Linked DNA regions of Homo sapiens: region 2 is linked to region 1. The links are contacts of gene promoters, found by promoter capture Hi-C in human tissues and cell types (Jung and others, 2019). All regions are on one chromosome and are shown on one strand. The core of a region is centred on a gene start or on the middle of the fragment in contact, and the rest is flanking DNA. Distances in the headings are between cores, read along the strand shown.

Evidence for each region. The method cuts DNA at HindIII sites, captures the fragments that hold promoters and counts their contacts. A contact is called where the count stands out against the background at its distance.
Region 2: the fragment with the promoter of ZCCHC14 here is called in contact with the fragment with the promoter of KLHDC4 in region 1 in 4 of the 25 tissues and cell types used here (dorsolateral prefrontal cortex, hippocampus, lymphoblastoid cells and 1 more).

Annotation. Positions count from the first base shown.
Region 1 is chr16:87,762,627-87,770,437 of GRCh38, reverse strand. KLHDC4 (kelch domain containing 4) reads left to right here and starts at 4,452. Exons shown (of 12, transcript NM_017566.4): 1 at 4,452-4,646. The coding sequence starts at 4,548. It overlaps LOC105371399 (a long non-coding RNA gene), which reads right to left and starts at 4,397. Exons shown (of 3, transcript XR_933871.3): 1 at 4,097-4,397. LOC102724467 (a long non-coding RNA gene) reads left to right here. Exons shown (of 4, transcript NR_120309.1): 4 at 4,014-4,107. RefSeq lists enhancers at 4,357-4,416, 4,497-4,556, 4,540-5,164. The HindIII fragment of the contact is 6,630 bases long and covers 1,054-7,683 here.
Region 2 is chr16:87,488,768-87,495,507 of GRCh38, reverse strand. It overlaps ZCCHC14 (zinc finger CCHC-type containing 14), which reads left to right and starts at 2,484. Exons shown (of 13, transcript NM_015144.3): 1 at 2,484-3,839. The coding sequence starts at 3,270. It overlaps ZCCHC14-DT (ZCCHC14 divergent transcript), which reads right to left and starts at 1,321. Exons shown (of 4, transcript NR_110943.1): 1 at 1,273-1,321. RefSeq lists a silencer at 2,366-2,545. The HindIII fragment of the contact is 17,996 bases long and covers 1-6,740 here.

The DNA of each region.
Region 1 (7,811 bases), core at 3,203-5,702:
CTCTTGCTCCTCAGCAGCCACCTGCCTCACCCCAGCCACCTGTGCACACTTGAAATATATACAGTTTATTGTATATAAGCAACACATAGATAAATCCCTGATTATAGTTGGAAATCTTATTATTCCTCTCTCTGGAATGGATTCAAAGAAGTGGGAAAAATTCAGTAAGGCCAGCATGGTGGCTCACGCCTGTAATCCCAGCACTTTAAGATGCCCAGTCGGGTGGATCACGTGAGGTCAGGAGTTTGAGACCAGCTTGGCCTACATGGTGAAACCTTGTCTCTATAAAACATACAAAAATTAGCTGGGTGTGGTGGCAGATGCCTGTAATCCCAGCTACCTGGGAGGCTGAGGTAAGAACTTGGGAGCCGGAGGTTGCAGTGAGCTGAGATAGTGCCACTGCACTCCAGCCTGGGTGACAGAGTGAGACTCTGTCTCAAAAAAAAAAAAAAAAAGCCTTTGTGTTTTGCTTTTTTACTTCCCTAAGCTTTATTTTATTTATTTTTAATTTTTATTTTTTGAGACGGAGTCTCACTCTGTCGCCCAGGCTGGAGTGCAATGGTGCGATCTTGGCTCACTGCAAGCTCCGCCTCCCGGGTTCACGCCATTCTCCTGCCTCAGCTTCCCGAGTACTGGGACTACAGGCGCCCGCCACCGCGCCCGGCTAATTTTTTGTATTTTTAGTAGAGACGGGGTTTCACCGTGTTAGCCAGGATGGTCTTGATCTCCTGACCTCGTGATCCACCCGCCTCAGCCTCCCAAAGTGCTGGGATTACAGGCGTGAGCCACCGCGCCTGGCCTCTTTCCTAAGCTTTATTATTGTTTCACTTGATTTTCCCAAGAATCCTGTGTAATAGGTGAACTAGTTCATTATTCCCACTTTCCTGCTGGGAAACGTGCAAAGAGCCACGTAATCCATACCACACTTGGCAGAACCTTCCAATCACATTGATTACTTGTGGTGAGGATAATTAGAAGTTAGCATATTTTCCTAAAATTTAATCTATTATTAATAGATTTTTTTTCTCTTCTGCACTTCAACTTGAAGGCAGCAGAGGGCGCCTGATCACACAAAAGATACACTCTAAAAGTCAGCGACAGATTAAAGATAATCCATGAAAGTTTCAACAATGTGAATTTTACTAAAATAGAGCCTTGTACTTAATCTTTTGACTATTTTAGGATCTGATCTCATTTTAGATGTTCTATTCCGTCTTTCTCAGTATGAGAATTTCAGTCTCACGTAAATCACCATGACACCTATAATCCAAGAGCCTTCTAATTTAGCTTCAAGCTTCTTTCAGATAATAAAAGTATTAAACCCCGCATCCACCAGATCCTCCTAAATCTTCAATAGGTCATACGCTCTCCCTGTCTCCGGCCTGAAGTGGGCACCACTGTAATGTACTGCAGCCAGATGTGCTGTGAATGAAGAGCCTTTTGGCTTCAAGTGCATTGCCTCAGGTTTACCCAGGATTTTTAGAAAAATATTAAAGGATTACGTATGTTCTTAAAGTCATAGTACACTAGAGGGGACAGAACTATTTCCCGAGGGCAATAGTGAGGATTTAGCCTTTTGTAGTTCGTCATGGAAGATAAACATGCCTGGATGCCCAGGCTGGGTTTCTGTGAAATTCTCCAGCTCCTTTCTGCTCAGCTCCTAACCGGTTTTTTTTTTCTACCACCACATAGGTTTCCTACAAGCAGTGCTGGAGACCATGGTGGTCTTCAACCAGTGCTATCTTTTCTTCTCATTATTTCCCCAAATTTCATTTTTCTTCTTAAAGAGCTAGGTTTATGGATAAGGCTTGGAGTGGGTTGGAAAATCATTCCTCCTCAGCTGCTCAGTGACTAGTCATTGATTGGATCTAAGGTAACTTTTTTTGTTTTTGAGACAGAGTTTCGCTTTTGCTGCCCAGGCTGGAGTGCAATGGCGTGATCTGGGCTCACCGCAACCTTTCCTCCCGGTTCAAGCAATTCTCCTACCTCAGCCTCCTGAGTAGCTGGGATTAAAGGTGCACACCACCACACCTGGCTAATTTTTTTGTATTTTTGTAGAGACGGGGTTTCACCATGTTGGCCAGGCTGGTTTTGAACTCCTGACCTCGTGATCTGCCCACCTTGGCCTCCCAAAGTGCTGGGATTACAGATGTGAGCCACTACGCCTGGCCGAGTTAACTTCTTCTTTTTTTTTTTTTTTTTGAGACGGAGTCTAGCTCTGTTGCCCAGGCTGGAGTGCAGTGGTTCAGTCTCGGCTCACTGCAACCTCTGTCTCCCAGGCTCAAGCCATTCTCCTGACTCAGCCTCCCGAGTAGCTGGGATTACAGGTGCGCACCACCATGCCTGTCTAATTTTGTATTTTTAGTGGAGATGGGGTTTCACCATGTTGATCAGGCTGGTCTCAAACTCCTGACCTCAGGTGATCTGCCTGCCTCTGCCTCTCAAAGTGCTAGGATTACAGGCGTGAGCCATCACACCTGGCTGGATCTAAGATAACATCTTTTTTTTTTTTTTTTTTTGAGATGGAGTCTTGCTTTGTCGCCCAGGCTGGAGTGCAGTGGTGCAATCTCCGCTCACTGCAACCTCTGCCGCCTAGGTTCAAATGATTCTTTTGCCTCAGCCTCCTGAATAGTTGGGACTACAGGTGGGTGCCACCACACCTGGCTAATTTTTTTTTTTTTTTTTGTATTTTTAGTGGAGACAGGGTTTCACCATATTGGCCAGGCTGGTCTTGAACTCCTGACCTCGTGATCAGCCCGCTTCAGCCTCCCAAAGTGCTGGGATTACAGGAATGAACCACCACGCCTGGCCTAAGAGAACTTTTAAAGGCTGACTCACACACAAAGTAATAAACTAGATTATTTCCTGATTTATGCTTTCCCTTTGCCAAATTTTGGCTTGTCCTTGTCCTTAATTTGCCTTATTCCTTGATTACCCATCCAAAGATGACATCTTCTAAGTAGTGATAAGCATTTTTACTCTGCTCTTTCAAATCATAACATTCCATGCACTGCAGATGATTTTGCCATTTCTTACGTAATTTGAGGCAAATCCTAGAGTACAATTTCCTAGCAGGCATTTGGATATTACCTATCTTTATTTCTCAGGCTCCACAAATTGAGTACCCTTTCAGGGTGCTATCATTAGCTCTAGCCTACCTATGAAGAAACAAAAGTCCTCCATGTTAGGACATTTGAGGACATGCCCTTAGTACCTAACAGTGTCTGGCACATTTTAAATGGGAAGGTGGAAGGGCCCCCCCATTTTTTTTTTTTTTTAAGATGGAATTTTGCTCTTTTGCCCAAGCTGGAGTGAAGTGGCTTGATCTCAGCTCATTGCAACCTCTGCCCCCTGGGTTCAAGCAATTCTCCTGCCTCAGCCTCCCAAGTAGCTGGGATTACAGGTGCCCACCACCACGCCTGGCTAATTTTTGTAGTTTTAGTAGAGACGGGGGTTTCACCATGTTGGCTAGGCTGGTCTCGAACTCCTGACCTCGTGATCCACTCACCTCGGCCTCCCAAAGTGCTGGGATTACAGGCGTGAGCCACCGCGCCCGGCAGGGACTGTCTTACTCAGGATCTGCAAAATCTTATAACTGTGTGAAATTTTTTTTCTGGGAAAAAAGCACTCATTTGTTTGGTCTGAGGGGAAAAAATGGGGCTAGCCCAAGAGTCGCCCACTTAGTTCTACCCAGGGCGAAGCAATGTGCCTTAACGGGGGGCACGTGCACCCCGGAAAACTCAAGAGAAAATGAGCCGGGCGTGGTGGGCTCCTGTGGTCCCAGCTACTCCAGAGGCGGAGGTTACAGCGAGCCGAGATCGCGCTACCGCACTCCAGCCTGGGCGACAGAGCAAGACCCTGCCTCAAAAAAATAGAAATAAAAAATAAAACTCAGAGGGCACGTCTCCTAGGACACGGGGACAGGCTAGGTGGGGGCACAGGGCGTGAGAATTGGCGAGCATGGCCGGGGTATGTCAGGCCGGGGCTGCCATCTTTTTTGTTTTTTGAAACAGGATCTCGCTCTGTCGCCCAGGTTGGGGTGCAGGGGCGCATTGCTGCCTGGAACTCCTTGACTCAAGCGATCTTCCCGCCTCACCTTCCCGAGGAGCTAGGACCACTGGGCGCGAGACACCACGCCCGGTTAATTTTTTTTTTTTTCTTCTGTAGCGACTGGGGGTGGGGGGTGGTGTCTCGCTTTGTTGCCCAGGCTGATCTCGAACTCCTGGACTCAAGCGATCCGCCCGCCAAGGCCTCCCAAAGCTCCAGGGTTACAGGCATGAGCCACCGCGCCCAGCCCGGGGCCGGTCATCTTTTCCGGGGCCTTATGCAGAGTCCGAGGCCCCCGAGCCCGCTGCCGAAGACGGAGCTCCAAGACCGAACCTCGTAAAGGGCCCAGCCGCACCTCTACCCGGAAGCGGCTCGAACTCGGGGCCGGAAGTGACTCCATTTCTGTGCGCCGAGCTCCGCCCCACGAGCACCTGTTTCCGAGCGGAGAGCGCGGGCCGTTTTCTTTCCTGGTGTCCCGTCGCGGCTTGGGACCCGGCAAGATGGGCAAGAAGGGCAAGAAGGAGAAGAAGGGCCGCGGCGCGGAGAAGACGGCCGCCAAGATGGAGAAGAAGGTGTCTAAGCGCTCGCGGAAGGAGGAGGTGAGCGGGTCAGACCGGGCTTAGCGGCCCGACGTCGCGGCCGTGCAGCCTCGGCCGACTCCCTGCGCCCCCCGGGGTTACGGGTCGGCCGTGGGAGCCGCGCCGGCCCTGCGGGAGAGCTGGAGGCCGTAGGAACTGCCCCGGCGCCGCGTCCGGGCAGCCCAGACGGGGCCCGCCCCCTCCTGAGTCTCCACGTGTGTCTGTCCGCTTCTCGGAGCTGCCCCCTTTAACGTGCTTGCTTTTCTTAGTGTGGTGTCACGGGCGTTTTTCTGCGTTTCCTCCCCCTCCTCCCTTCTCCCTCCACCCTCCCTCTGAAGGGAGGCTGGGTGGTGAGAAGAGGGAGGGGTTTGGCACAGGAAGACCTGAGGTTGAGCCGGGGGCTGCCTCTGCATGATGTGTGGTCTGGGAGTAAGACTCTTAACTTTTCTGAACCTTACTTTTCTTTCAAAAGAGGGCAAATAATCATCACAGCAGCCCTGAGCAGTGAGCAGCAGATGGTTAAGTGAAGAAGGCACTGGAGCCACGGGGTATCCCGTAGCAGCTGATGGCGGCCATCACGGTTGTCTCCTTCCCTCTGGTCCTCAGCCCGGGGTCTGCAGGAGGATCCGTCCTGACCTTGGGGTTGAGTGTTCTGCGGCTGCTGCTCATGGATTCCCTAACCGGGGCCAGTTTTATGGCCTGCCGTGCGCCAGGCACAGCTCCCTGGGCTTTACTCCTCACGAGCAGGTCAGTTCCGTAGCACTGGTATTCCCATTTGACAGGAAGACCAACAGGTGAACCATGAAGTGGTATGGAACTGGGATGTGACCAGATGTCCTGAATCAGGAGCTCTTGACCACAGTCCTTTGTCCCTTTTCTTCCTAAGTCATTGATCTCTCCATGTCCTCATCTCTTAAATAATGGAGTTGGACTTTTCCCTCACACTCCTCTTAGGCTCTTTCTTTTTTTTTTTTTTTTTTTTGACAGAGTCTTGCTCTGTCACCTAGGCTGGGCTGCAGTGGCATGACCTGCTGGCTAGGGTTGTGGCACAGGAAGTCAGTTCATCTGTGTGGTATCTTCAGAATGGTGCTTGGCAGAAAGTAAGCACTCAGTAACCAGCTGTTAGCTGCTTTCTGCTTTTTTTTTTTTTTTTTTTTTTTTTTTTTGAAGGAGTTTCACTCTTGTTGCCCAGGGTGGAGTGCAATGGTGCGATCTCAGCTCACTGCACCTCCGCCTCCCAGGTTCAAGTGGTTCTCCTGCCTCAGCCTCCCAAGTAGCTGAGATTACAGGCATGCACCACCACACCCAGCTAATTTTGTATTTTTAATAGAGACCGGGTTTCACCGTTTTGGTCAGGCTGGTCTGGGACTCCTGACCTCAGGTGATGCGCTCGCCTCGGCCTCCCAAAGTGCTGGGATTACAAGCCGTAAGCCACCTTGCCCCGCCAGTTACCTGTCATTTTTACTCATCTCCATGTCTCCCTCCAGTACCCAATACTAAGGTGATTGTAACAGTAGCTTCCCTTAAGAGAGAGAGCCTGTCAGGCCTGGGGTTTGTATGTTATCTGAATGAACCCTCAAAACAAACTTTTAAAATAAGTGGGCGTCTGATTAGGCTAGACCCACAGAGGATCATCTCTTTCTTAAATTCAGCTGTGTCTGTAATACAACCTAATCACAAGAGTGGTATCCCATTCTTTCACAGTCCTGGCAATTATTGGGGGAAGGATTGGGGACAGTTTGGAATTCTGCTCCCACAGAACTCATGTATCAGGTCACCTGGTTCGCACCTTCACTTAGTCCTGGCCTCTGCCTGTCTTTCCAGCTGTCTCCCTGGGCTCACTCCAGCCACAGTGTCTTTTAGTGTCTCAAACATGGCAAGTTGTGTCTGTGGTCTTACCTATACCCCAACCATACTCCGTCTGAGTCGTCTTTTCAGCATTCAGCTTATTGTCACTTTGGAGAGGCTGTCACTGGCTAGGCCACTGGCGTCACCCAGACCCTACCACCTTGCTCTCCTTCAGTCACCCAATGATGATGAGGTTCAGCCAAGGTCAAAGACCGCTCTAAGTAGCAGCAGCAAAGCTTTCGCGGTACATAGACGTTAGTATTTGAACTGTTTGTTTAACCTCGTTGAGCAAAAAAAGCAAGTTGAAAGAATATACAGTATGATACCATTTAATGACATTTTATTTTTTATTTTTTTTGAGATGGAGTCCTGCTCTGTCACCCAGAGCAAGTGTCGCAGTGGCATGATCTCAGCTCATTGCAACCTCTGCCTCCCAGGCTCAAGCAATTCTCCTGCCTCAGCCTCCCGAGTAGTTTGGGACTACAGGTGTGCGCCACTGTGGCCGGCTAATTTTTGTATTTTTTAGTAGAGACGGGGTTTCACCGTGTTGGTCAGGCTGGTCTCGAACTCCTGACCTCAAATTATCCACCTGCCTCGGCCTCCCAAAGTTCGGGGATTACAGGCGTGAGCCACTGTGCCCAGTCCATTTAATGACATTTAAAAATGTAAAACAATACTATATGTTGCTTAGGGATACACATGTGTAATAAAAGATTGAAGAAAAGCGTGAGACTAATAAGCATCGAGTTCCAGATAGTGGTTACTTGAGGGAATGTGTGGGTGGGTACATGTGGGTGACACTTTATTCCTTACCCTGGGAACCGTATACAGGAATGTCTTGGATAAAGTTCTGTTAACTTGTGTGTTTTAAATATTGCATCGTTTAGAATACTAAGCAGTGTACCCTGCTGACATTCACCCTGAGATGAGAGGTAGACTGAAGGAAGCACGAGGTGGGGCGTGGCAGGCTGAGGGAACCTGGCGTTTTCATTGAAGGAACGGAGAGGACGCTGGTGTATCTTGGAGAGTGAGGCCAGGTGGGAGGTGAGGTTGGAGAGGTGGGTGTGGGGGAGGGAAGATGGTCTGCAGGTGTGTGTAGTTGCAAGCAGGACACTGAAGGCTAGAAGGAACTTGAAATGCCAGGCTCGGGTGTGCATGGGAGTGTCTCGTAAATGTTGGGAAATGGGCACTGGGACTGAGGCGGGAACACTGGGTTCCAGTGCTGCCCTCTGTGCTGGCACATCAGTACCTTGAGTCACTCTCGATGGTAGTAAAAGTTGAGACCTTCTTACTTGGATAGACTGCAGCTGGTATTTGCTGAGCTCTTGCTGTGCAGGC
Region 2 (6,740 bases), core at 1,235-3,734, 270 kb after region 1:
AGTCTCATTGCATGTAGGGCTCACCTTAATTCAGTGTGATTTTATCTTGACTCTTACCTTAATTATATCTGCAAAGACTCTTTTCCCAAATAAGGTCACATTCTGAGATTTGGGGTAGAGATAAACTTTGGGGGGACATGATTCAACCTACTAAGCCATTAAATCACAAAGAGCACGCAAGAAGGACCAAAAAGGCAGCGGGAAGTGGGGAGGACCTTGATCCAAGGACTTCCACAGCTCAGGCCTCCCTTGTTCCAGCCAGCAAGGGCTTTCCATGAGCACCTTTGACTTCCACTGCTAGCCAGGATGACGGGTTCCTGGCTGTCTTCTACAGATGAGGAAACTGAGGCTCAGAGGCCTCTGAATGCATAGCCAAGTTCACACAGTCAGCCACAGCTGGGACTGGAGCTCACTTGGTACCAAAGCCTGGGGGTTTCACAGCCAGCTCGGCTGGATTGAAGAAGCCCCACCCCCACCCCCAGCACTAATGAGGTTCCAAGATCTTTCTCCAAGGAGCTTGCTTTATCAATAAGAAATGAATCTTTTGTTTTGTTTTGTTTTTGAGACAGAGTCTTACGCTGTCACCCAGGCTGGAGTGCAGTGGCGGGATCCCCATTCACCGCAACCTCCCTTTCCCGGGCTCGGGCAATCCTTCCACTGCAGTCTCCCAAGTACCTGGGACTACAGGCACATGCCACCACATCTGGCTAATTTTTGTAGTTTTTGTAGAGATGGGATTTCGCCATGTTGCCCAGGCTGGTCTCGAACTCCTGGGCTCAAGGGATCTACCCTCGGCCTCCCAAAGTACTGGGATTACAGATGTGAGCCTCTGAGCCCAGCCAAACTGTCTTGATGTTCACGTTCTTTCACTACCTTAGATTATGAATTTTGGAATGTGGCCAGTTCCCTGGAATCACATTAAGAAGTGAGGTCCAGGACAACGACGATTAATTTAATTATTAATAGAAATCAGCCTAGACCTGGGAAATAAGATGAGGAGACCCAACTGTCCCCAGCCTTGCCCTTGTGCCCATGTGGGAGGCCATCCTGACTCCATTTAGATTTTTGCTTCTTCCTACACTGACAAAGAACACTGGGGCAGCTCCAGGGAAATGTGCCCAAGGTGTGGAGGGGGCTGGGGGAGTGGAGAGCAATTTTTTTTGTTCCCAACCATGCCTTTCTGCAATCTCTGTTCATCCTCGAAGACCTAAGACTGGAGAATGTGGGGTTTGTTTGTTTTGGAGCGACTGGGGCGGGGAGGGGGGGTCTCACCATGTTGCCCAGGTTGGTCTTAAACTCTTGGCCTCAAGCGATCCTCCTGCCTCGGTCTACCCAGTAGCTGGAACCACAGGCGTGCCAGATTCGGCTGAAGAGTTTTGTTAGGAAGTTTTCAGCACCTTGGACCATATCCTGAAAAAGTTCATTCATTGATTTAACCAATCTCTAGTGTGCACTGCCCAGAACCAGAGTGTAAGCTCCACAGGGTAGGGAGGGCGCCAGCTTTGCTCTCAGCTGCCCCCGGGCGCTTGGGACCTGGAACCCATGAATGAACAGACCCCGTTCTAGATCAACAGACATTCAAAGCAGCGCTCTAGGGGAAGGGCAGGGGAGGAATGAGCGTCCAGCCCCCGCGGCTCTACTTCTATGCCTGTGTGTAAGTGGTGGGATTTAAAGGTGGTTGGGTGCACCGGCCCTTCCCCCACCTGCAATCCGGTGCCAATGCAAGTGCCAGGGGAGGGTGGCGTTTCTGTTTACTTCCAGCCAGGTCAGCTCCCTTGCCCCCTCCCCTGTGTTTGCATTTTCTGCGTTTGGCGAGCTGGTGAAGTAGCCGCGGAAAGAAGGCGGATTTAAAGGCTCCATTTGGACGAGGCTTTTGGAGAAAGCTTGCACCTCCCATCACACCCCCAGGGCAAGTCAGCCGCCTCAAAAGTGCCGGTGCCGGCCCTCTGTGAGCTCAACACCTTCGCACAAACCTCGGGGGCGGTTATTATTACCCTCTTTTTCCCGGGGAGGCGCCTGGGGCTCAGAGAGGCCAAGTGACTCGCCCAAGGTCACACAGCTTTGCAGTGGCCGACCCGGGATTGGAACCCGGGGCTCCGGACCCCGCGGCGGCCGTTTCTCGAAGATACCCACTACCTCCCTCTTACACCGCTCAAAAATAAAGCAGGAAGGCCGAACGCCCCGTTTTCGCCGAAAAACAATGCTCCACGCAAATTTGCGGGAACAAAAGCAACCAGAAATCCAGCCCGGGTTTTCCGCCTCTCCGATTCCGCGGACCAATCGCGTCTTGACGGCCGCCGAGGGACGGGAGGCGGTGGCCCCAACATGATCGACAGCCCCCAGGGAGGCGTGGCCGCGGAACGGGCGAATGGGATTGGGGACCCGGCACAATCACGGGCCGAGAACGGGCCGCCTGAGCCAATCAGTGGGGGGGGGACGGGCCCGGCAGGCCCGGGCTGTCGCGAGAGGCGGCCACCCCGCCCACTTCTGCTGATCCCGGCCGCCCGTCAGCCGCGAGCGCGACGATCCCTCCGCTCCTCGGCCGGCGCCTCCTCCGCCGTCGCCGTCGCCGTCGCCGTCGCCGTCGCCGCCGCCGCCGCGCTCGGGCCCGGATCCGTCCGCCGCGCGGGAGCAGCAAGGCCGGCAAGTCCCGGCCGGATCCCTCCGCGCCTCCCGCCGCGCGTCCCTCCCCCTCCAGCGTCCGTTTCGCGGCCGCGGCCCCCAGCGCTCCCCAGGCGGCGACGCCGCGCCCGCGGCCCGGGGTAACGGCCGGCCTGGGCGGAGGCGCGGGCGGCGGCGACGGCATGGCCGGGGCGGCTCCGTCGGGGGGCGGCCCGCAGTGACAGACCCTGCGGCGCGGGGGGAGATGGGGGCGGCCGCCTCCCGGGCGACGACGACGACGACGACGAGGAGCAGCCGCCGCCGCCGCCGCGCACCGGCCGCCGCTGGGCACGGGCGCGGGGAAGGCGCCTCCCCGTGAGCGGGGGGCCCGAGGCCGCTCGCCGCCCCCGGCCGCCCCGGCCGCCCCGGGCCCCCCCGGCGCCCCGCGCGCGCCCGCCCGCCGGCCCCTGACGGGAGCCTTGCCCGGCCCCGGTCCCCGCCCCCGCCCCGGCGCCCGCCCGGCCCGCGGCGCCCGCGCGCCCTCGCCCGGACCCGGCCCCGGCCCGCGCGTCCCCGGTCCCGGCGCGCCCCGGCCGCGGCCCCCGGCGCCCCCCGGCCGCCCCCGCGCGGTCCCCGGCCCCGGGTCGCGGCGCGGCGCGGGCGGCAGCATGGTGGAGAAGCGCTGCCCGCTGCAGAGGGACGGCGTGTACCGCTGGTTCTCGGAGCTGCCGTCGCCGCAGCGCGTGGAGTTCCTGTGCGGCCTGCTGGACCTGTGCATCCCGCTCGAGCTTCGCTTCCTCGGCTCGTGCCTGGAGGACCTGGCCCGCAAGGACTACCACTCGCTGCGCGACTCGGAGATCAAGGCCAACAACCCGGCCGACCTGGGCAGCCTCACCAACCTGACGGACGAGGTGGTGCGCAGCAAGCTGCTGGTGTCGCTGGCGCTGCTGGGCTCGGAGCAGCGCGAGGCGGCGGGCGTGCTCTACCGCACGCTCACGCACATCGACTCCATCATCCACAACTACGGGCTGCAGCTTAACGAGGGCCGCACGGGCGATGAGTTCCTGCTGCTGTTCACCATGGCCTCCAACCACCCGGCCTTCAGCTTCCACCAGAAGCAGGTGCTGCGCCAGGAGCTCACGCAGATCCAGAGCAGCCTGAACGGCGGCGGGGGCCACGGCGGCAAGGGCGCGCCCGGGCCGGGCGGCGCGCTGCCCACTTGCCCAGCCTGCCACAAGGTGCGTGCCCGCCCCGAGCTCTGCCCTGTACCCCAAGTCTGCATCCCCAACTCTGCACTCCAAGCCTCCAGCCTGCACCGCGACCCCCCGACCCACGCCTCCAGCCTGCACTGAGAGCTCCCACCCAGGTCTCCAACCTGCACCACGAGCCCCCAGCCCGTATCCCAAGCCCCATCCTAAGCCTCTATGTCGCACCCCAAATGTGTGCCCCACCTCTCCAAGCCTCCACCGTACATCCCAAGCCTCCGCCGTACATCCCAAGCCTCCGCCGTACATCCCAAGCCCCCATCCTAAGCCCGCACTCCTCACCCTAAGTCTGCACTTTAAGCCCCAAGACCGCACCGCGGCCCTGAGCCCACACCCTCAGTCCCCTCTGCGTGCCCCAAAGCCTCCACACCTCCGCCTCGCGCCCCTTGGGCAGGAGCGGCTGCAGGGGCCCTGGGTCCGAGGATCCGCGGGAGCGGTGCGGGAGACGTCCGCGGTCAGAGCTCACAGTCCCAGGTGCCCTCCTTTCACTTAGCCGGCTGCAAACGCGATAAGGCCTTTGTCCCCTTAATGGGGCCCTTGGGTGACAGATAACACACATTGCGGCGCCTTGGTTTCCCCAAATCTGGTATTTATTACCAGAAAAGGAAGGAGCCGTGGCCACGCCAGAAGCCGCCGGTGAGGTGAACATTGCAAGGCGCTGGGGCTTCCCCGTCTGAGCCGCTCCCTCCACACAGGTGGAGGCCCTGCTTGGGGCCTGTGTCGCTGGGGGCCTGGGCGCGGGACATGGCTGTCCGTGTGAGCTCATTTATGGACACGTGCATGCTGTATGATGTACGCGTGTGTCGCATGTGGGCATGTATATGTGCACACGTGTGTATGAATGTGCACATGCTTGTGAACGTTGTGTGTGATCGTTTTTAAGAGCCGGGCTACCTGTAACAGACAGAAAAAGACTCCCAGAGCCTTAAATGCCCGTGAAACCTATTTATTGGCGACCCTTAGAAACAAAACCCAGGCTGACTTTGAGTGGGAGGGCACCGATGCCTTAAGGAATGTTAGGTTAGGTTAAAGATCTCCGGTCTCCAAATTGAACCGGAAGGGCGTCCTGGCCATCCACTTAGCGATGTGAACTTTTGTCTAAGTGTTTCAGAACTGAAAACGCAAAGTGTCTGGGGCTCCAGCTATTTTGAACAGCCCCCTGCAATCCAGTGCCAAAATTTTGCTGCCGGAAGAGATTACTTTGACCTGGTGTGATGTGTATTTAGATTACAAACTGATTATTTTTTGGAAGGGAATAGGTTGCAGTCGGGACCAAGTCTTGCTCAGTGTCTCTTTGCAGTGTCTTTAAGCTCTTTGAAGTTAAAACTTTGATAAGACTTTGCTTTTATGAGTGGCTGAGAACACCGTCTGGTTTGCTAGGTTTTTTATGTGTGTGTTTTTAAAGCTGTCTTTCAATCGTAGATTGTGGCTTTTCTTTTTTAATGTCTTCCTGTAAGAAGTGGTTGTAGTACATACATCGGTTTTTTTAAATTGATTTTTGTGTGTGTGACATTTACCTCCAAGACTATAGTTTTCTTTTTAAGTTCGGCTCCCACCCTGTATTTCAGGCTGTGTGCTGTGCAGAGGGTCCTAGGAAATGTAGTTGTTTATAGTAATCCATGTAAGCCTTGACATGCCAGCAAATTGTCACCTATTCATGGAATCTCAGTCATTTATGGTCAGTTTCATGTGCTGTTACTCCTTTGTGTAGATTCCACCCACTAATAATTTCTATGGCTGTTGCTACAGTAACGTCATCTCTTTAAGGGGATTCTTAATGTGTGAGCACGGGTGCCTCACTTTATGCAGACAGTGGTGATTATTATTTTGATTGGGCAGTGAGCTAAATCTAGAACAAAAATGTCTTTTATAGGAGAGCCTTTCTGTGAAGCAGAAATCCCTTTGATGAGATGAAGGGGCTAATCTATTCCTCTCTGCTCACCCCTGCACCTCCCCCGCTACACCCCAGTCCCAAGGCCATGGGCGCTGAATTTACCAGCCGTGCAACCTTGGCCAGGATCCTTCTGCCCCTCAGTGTTGTCCCTGTTGCAGTGGAGGGGATGTAACCTACCTCACAGGCTTGTGTTGAGGATTACATAGGTAACATACATGAGCTTCCAGCAGAGGTGCAGTAAATGCTGCTTTCTCCTCTATGGCCTCTCCGGCTTTTAACATTCCTTTTTATAGAGGTTTGCTAACTTAAAGCAAGGCATGTTTTATAGATTGAATTATTTACATCTTGGCTATGAGCGTTTATGTGTTCTAAATTGGTTTTTGAGTAGTTACTTGGAGCTGACAATTTTTTTGTTTCATCTTTGGAAAACTGGAAGATTCTGTGACCCTTAATGAGAGGATTATTATAAGGAGTAACCTTGGGCTGTCATTTCCGTATTTCAAAACAACCGTGGTTTCTAGTTTTCCCTACATCCCTAGTGTCACTGCTAAGCTAATTTCAGCCCCATTCATTTAACTTTCGTTTCTGTTGCTGCTTCAAAGCTAAGGCTGACGTTGATGAACCCTTTATTGCTTGGAGCATGCAACTCAGATGAAATCTAGCATTTAAGTATTTTGCTTTCTTAGTTTCTAAATCTAACGTTTGGTGTATTCCTGAAAAAGCAGCCCCGTTAAAGCTGTCTGCATTCTTTTGTAAGCTGTTGTATTTTATTTTGAACTCTTTGAGCTTAGAGACTTTGTATTTTTCTTTTAGAGATACAAATGTCAATGGCTTTTTAAATTCTTTATCCAATTTGAATTTTTATTTCTTGGCCTGGCAAGGTGGCTTACGCCTGTAGTCCCGGAAGTTTGGGAGGTCAAGGTGGGCAGATCGCTTGAGCCCAGGAGTTCAACACCAGCCTGGGCAACACAGCAAAACCC